2 separate regions of the Homo sapiens genome follow, and region 2 is linked to region 1. Evidence: promoter capture Hi-C in 16 types of primary human blood cells and fetal thymus (Javierre and others, 2016). All regions are on one chromosome and are shown on one strand. The core of a region is centred on a gene start or on the middle of the fragment in contact, and the rest is flanking DNA. Distances in the headings are between cores, read along the strand shown. Region 1 holds the start of LBX1 (ladybird homeobox 1). Region 2 overlaps FGF8 (fibroblast growth factor 8).

Region 1 (2,704 bases), core at 6-2,505:
CCCAGGACACTGGGAACGCAAGGGAGCCCGGCAAAGCAAGCAGACTGCGGAAAGAGCTTGGCCACCCTTCTCCTGCCACCCCCCAGCTCTGGCCTACCCAGAGGTCCCTGGGAAATAAGGATTGGGTCCCGTCCCACATATCTTCACTCCCATAAGCAGCTGCTCAGGCTGGAAGGCCCTGGCGGCCGGAGAGGGCAGAGGCGAGCAGAGGCATAGGGGACGAAGCGCGCAGGGCACAGGGCGCGAGGCGCTGGGTGCAGGGGAACCCAGCAGCTGCGCCTACCTTCGGCTGCCTGCAGAACGCTGACCTCCAGCCCCTTAAACGTCTTGCTGGCGAGCTCCTCCAGCGCGCACAGCGGCGAGGTCTGCGAGAGCAGCGCGCGGCCCGCCAGGGGCAAGCCGCCCTGCGCGTGCTTGTCCGCGGCGGCCAGCAGGTGCGCCGCCCCGCACAGCGAGTAACTTCTCCGCACAGACGGCTTGTTGAGGATGTCCTCGATGCTGAACGGCGTCAGTGGCTTGTTGGAGTTGGCAGGCGGAGGCAGGTGGTCCAGCGGGCTGCGCCGCCGCTCCTCCCCCGGCGCCGCCTTGCCGTCCTCCTTGGAAGTCATCTCGGCCTTGTTCGGGGTCCCGGCCGGGGCGGCTCGGGCCGCGGGGACCCAGCCCGCGGGCAGCTCGGGCGCCGGACGGCGCGGGCAGGCAGCGGCGGGTGGAAAGGAGGCCGCACTGGGCAGGGCGCGGGCCGGGCGCGGGGCCGATTAGCGCGGCGGCTGAGGAGGGGAGAACAGCGCGGGGCCCCGGGAAGAGGGCGCTGACGCGGGCGCCGCTGCTGCTGGGGCTTCCAGCAATCCGGGGCCGGAGCCGGGGCGCGCTGCGCGGGGCTCCAGTTTCGCCAACCCCGGTGCTATTTAAAGGTGTCAGGTGGCTCGGCAGTGGCTCCTGGCCCCGGGTCCTGGCGGCCGCAGTTGGAAGAGCCGAGGCGAGGGCGCCGATCCCGGACTGCGAGGGAGGCGGAGAGACGGGGCAATTGACTATTGCTAACAAGTTAGCCTTGATCGCGGTGTAATCAATTATCTGCAGCGGCACTTCTTTCTCTTTCTCTCTCCTTTCTCCCTTTTTCCTCTCTTCTTTGCCTCTGTTCTCTCCTCCTGTTCTCGCTCTCCCTCCCTCCCTCTCTCTTCTCTCTTCTCTGCTCCCCCCTTCTCTCTCCTTCTCTCCCTCTCCCTCGCCCTCTCTTTCACTCTCTGTCTGTCCAATGCAGGCGGCTGTAAGTTGGGAAGCTCATTAATTAGCGGGCCGGGGGTAGGAGGAGCCGGCTGGAATTAGCCTGCCTAATGCGCCTGTCAGTCCGGGCGCTGCGCTGCGTTCGGCCCGAGCTGTTTGTAAATTACATTAGCTGCTCCTTTATTGCACCCGAACCTCGGGCGACTGAAAAGCCACCGCCCCCACCCCAAACTGCGAGCCGCGCTCCTGGCGCACCCGCCTCCCGCCGGCCTAGCTGCAATGACCGCACCGGCCCGAAGGTCTCGGTCTCTCCGACCCGGGATGTGGAGCCCGAAAGAGTGGTGGGAACCCCAGCCCGGGAGGGACGCGGCCGCCGCTCGGGCCAGGTAGGACCAGGAGCCCGGGTGGGCCCCGCTGCCACCCAGAGTGGACTTTGCGGAGCTGAGATCAAGAGCCCAGCGCCTCTACCTCTGACCCTCTTGCCCCTCACCCCACTGCCTGGGCGACGCGCCTGGGGAGAGGGAATCTGAAGCCCTCCTGCGCTGGCCCGCAGGAGGTCAGAGCCGGCTGCGCAGCCTTGGGTGGGCGACGCGGGAAGGGGGTGGAGGACCCCAGGGGTTGGGGGAGGGGGCTAGTCGGAGAGCTCAGCCTTCTCCACGCGGAGAGGCGGAGGAGGGAATTGTTGGCGGCTCTGGACGCCTCTCCCCGGCCTGATTCCGAAGCGGCCGCCCTACCTCCTCCGGCAATCTTGCTCACTTTCCTCCGGCAGCCGCTCCCCAGGCTGGCTGGGGCCACCAACGGCCTGATGATGGGCGTCTGAAGAGTAGCCAGGCCAGGTGCCGGGGCTAACGGGGCCGGCTCCGTGCCTCCCTGCTGCGCTCCGCCCGGGCCCCGGCCGGGGCCCCGCTGCCGGCCCCGCCTAGCCCAGCGCCCGGCTTGAGTGCATGGCCAGGCCGACTCCAGCTGTTCCGGATGCGGGGCGGGGGCCCGGCGGGAGCCAGGCCGCGGCTGGGGCTTTGCTCTCAGGAACTCGCAGGGAGGCCAGGCTTCCAGTTAGGCTGGGGCTAAAGACCTTAGGGCCCGGGATCTGTGAATATCGGGAGAACATGTTGTGTGCATTGTTACTTGAAGGTGTTTGTGTTTTTGAATGTGTGTTTGTGTGTGTTTCTCCATGCGTATATTTGTGTAAATGTGTGTGAACCTGTGGGTATATAGGTGTGTTTGAACTCAGCTATTTCTTTCATTTCCCTGAGGCATTCCAGCAGGGCTGTGCCCTCAGGCCTTCCTGTCTTGCTACCCCATTCTGTTTATGTGGGGCCACTGGCCTCCTTACTAATTTTCCATTTCTGCCCTTGGAGAAAGGAGGGGAGGACCTAGAGGGGGTTGGAGTCCAGGGAGAAGGGCTGTTCCCCTCCCACACACACACAGCCCTGGCCCTGGCTTTGTTTGTAAACTCCTGGGTGGGCGGTGAGGTTGGGCATTG
Region 2 (2,700 bases), core at 184-2,683, 540 kb after region 1:
AAGAGCTGGGGGAACTGGAAGAGAGACATCTAGGGCCCCTTCGCTACATCCAGTGTCTACGCACCAGCAGAAACCCACTCTCTCCAGAGCCCCTCACCGCCTGTGGCAGGCCACGAGAGGTGGCTGGACAGGCCAGCCTTTACTGCCGGGCTTCCCACTAAGCCTCGAAATTCCTGATCTGCCGGGGTGGGCTAAACCTGGGACTTGGGCCTGAAACTGTGGGAGGAAGCCTTGGGTTGCTCCCTACCCCAGGAGATGCCAATGGACAGAGTCCTAGAGGAGCGAGGTTTCTAGACTGGCTCAGTAGCTGGGCTGTGGGACCAGCCCAGGGCATCCACAAGGAAGGAAGCAGGAGCAGCCCTAATGGGAGGCCTCAGCGATGAAGCCTGGGCCAGCTCTGCACTCAGGAAACTGCCGTGGGGCCTGGGCTCTCCCTCGGTGTGGCAGGACACCAGTCTCACCAGTCCACACGCAAACACACACCTGCACCCTTGCCCATTCCCTTCTCTGCCCACACCATGACCTGCTCCACCACTCCCACAGCAGCCCTCCCTCCCTCCACATACGGCCTCCTGCTTCTCCCCAAGGCTATGACTGCCTTTAGTTCTGCGCTAGGCCTATGAGCTTCCCTTCTGGTGCCATCCGGTGCCCAGCTCCTCTCCCGCCAGGCCCATCCTCCGAGGTGGGCAGCCTCTTCCTGGAAGACAGTTCCCCAGGCTCCTCACCGCACCTCAGCTCAGTGCTTTCTGCCCACAGCTATCTCACCATATCACCCAAGGTTAACACTTGTCCCACATCACCATTGTCAACACCAGTCTTGGTGGTCCCCCTCCAATATGCCCCCACCTTGGACCCTGGCAGCTGCTCTTTTCTTTCATTTTCTGGAGCCTGAGTCTCAGAAAGAGCAAGTTCTGGAATCTCCAACCTGTCTCCCACATGGACCTAGGCACTCAGAGAAGCACTTTTTAAGAGGATTAAATCCATGATTACAGCTCTAGCCCTAGCACATCCATTATTTCTGGCCCTGAGGTGGCCTGGGGAAGTGTTAGCAATGACCTCTGTAAAGTGCTAGGAGGTACACATCTGAGAGCTCCAAGGACTAGCTAAGAGCCTCTTCTTGCCCCTTTCCCTGCTTCTGTCCTTGCAGGAAAACCCCTCAAGTGACAGTGATGGGGATGGTTGACAGGCAGGTGTCTTTAGGCTGGAGGGAGGCTGTGGTCAGAGCTGGCACCTGGTCATCTGCGTCTCCCAGCCGCCCACCAGCTGGGGCAAGGTTGGAGGGAGGGGCTGACCCCGGCAGGACTCACTCTCCAGCACACATTTTTAATATGCAAGTTAAATAAATATTTCAATCATTTAATAGCCACCAGTCTGATACCCACTTCTAAGAGGACTGCCCTATGTCACAGTCCTTTCCTCCCTGCCCCACCTGGGGGTGCAGTGGAGTCCCTGGCTGCCCAGCCAACTGGCCCTGGAGGTACTGGGGCCTCAGCAGCACAGGCTAGAGAAAGCCCCCCACCCCCGCAAACCCCCAGCCGGAATCCCAGTCTAGGCCACTAATGGAGCTTTCTGAGAGTTAAGAAGACAGACACCACAGCCAAGTGGAATACAAAAATAGAGCCTCTCTTTTGTTTTAAAAAAAAAAAAAAAAAAAAAAACAGCAAAAACCCAACAGCAAACAATATCAACAACCGGAACCCAGGGCTCCCCCAGCACCTCCCCAGCCTGCAGAGCAGCGCACAGCTCATCTTGCTTGAGTTTTGGGTGCCCTACAGGATGAGCCTCTCTGCGGTCTGGCATTGTGGGGAGGGCCAGGCAGCACCTATCGGGGCTCGGGGGCCCAAGTCCTCTGGCTGCCGCGCAGGCTGCGCGTGAAGGGCGGGTAGTTGAGGAACTCGAAGCGCAGGCTCTGCTCGGTGGTGTGGTGGCCCCGGGGCAGCCGCTTCATGAAGTGGACCTCACGCTGGTGCTGCCGCGTCTTGGAGCCCTTGCGGGGCCGGCCCTTGCGGGTGAAGGCCATGTACCAGCCCTCGTACTTGGCATTCTGCAGCGCTGTGTAGTTGTTCTCCAGCACAATCTCCGTGAAGACGCAGTCCTTGCCTTTGCCGTTGCTCTGCAGGTAGGGGAGCCAGACACCACGTTACAGAGCCCCCCCAGCAGAGGCAGAGGGCGAGCGGCCCCAGACAGCAGGTGGGCACCCCAGCAGATGGCGAGGTGGGCAGGAGCCGCAGCCCCACCCCCTGCCTGGGCACCCGCTCTCTAATCCCTCACAACTCGCAGCCCACCCGGCAACTTCCTGTCCTCCCAGGCAGCAGTGACACATGGTTGTCTACGGAGGGGCTGGGCCCCAACGCAGAAAGACAGAGAGAGGGGCCCAGAGCCTGGCCTGCTCTGGCCTCCTGCCCACCAGTCTGGCCACCCGTCTCCCCACCTGCCCCTCTCACCCCCCCAGGACTTCGGTTCCCTGGCCCCAGGGCAGCCACCCTATGGGGGAGGGGAGGCCTGGGAGAAGATGCTAAGACCCCAGCCCCAGAAGCCCAGGAAGTGGGGAGCTCGAGGCTGGAGAGGAGCCGTGACTAATGGAGCCATTTCAGAGCTCGGCCGAGGGGCTGGGCCTGCGGCTTACTGAACATTCCAAATGCTGGTACCATGTAATTGGACATAATAGCAAAGCAATTTGGCGATTTGTTAAAAAGATAT

What was found. Contacts are between HindIII fragments. The CHiCAGO score rates a contact against its expected background, and 5 or more counts as called.
Region 2: a fragment that was not itself captured here is called in contact with the fragment with the promoter of LBX1 in region 1 in 2 of 17 cell types (endothelial precursors and erythroblasts); the score reaches 7.6 in endothelial precursors.

Annotation. Positions count from the first base shown.
Region 1 is chr10:101,228,208-101,230,911 of GRCh38, forward strand. LBX1 (ladybird homeobox 1) reads right to left here and starts at 1,256. Exons shown (of 2, transcript NM_006562.5): 1 at 284-1,256. The coding sequence starts at 608. LBX1-AS1 (LBX1 antisense RNA 1) reads left to right here and starts at 1,387. Exons shown (of 3, transcript NR_029380.1): 1 at 1,387-1,607. The HindIII fragment of the contact is 27,362 bases long and covers 1-2,704 here.
Region 2 is chr10:101,768,507-101,771,206 of GRCh38, forward strand. FGF8 (fibroblast growth factor 8) reads right to left here. Exons shown (of 6, transcript NM_033163.5): 6 at 1,603-2,113. The coding sequence ends at 1,823. LOC105378457 (a long non-coding RNA gene) reads left to right here. Exons shown (of 3, transcript XR_946253.3): 2 at 2,051-2,119. Among named protein-coding and RNA genes, the nearest start is that of FGF8, 6.3 kb to the right of the region's middle. RefSeq lists enhancers at 1-130, 1,627-2,404. The HindIII fragment of the contact is 7,236 bases long and covers 1-2,700 here.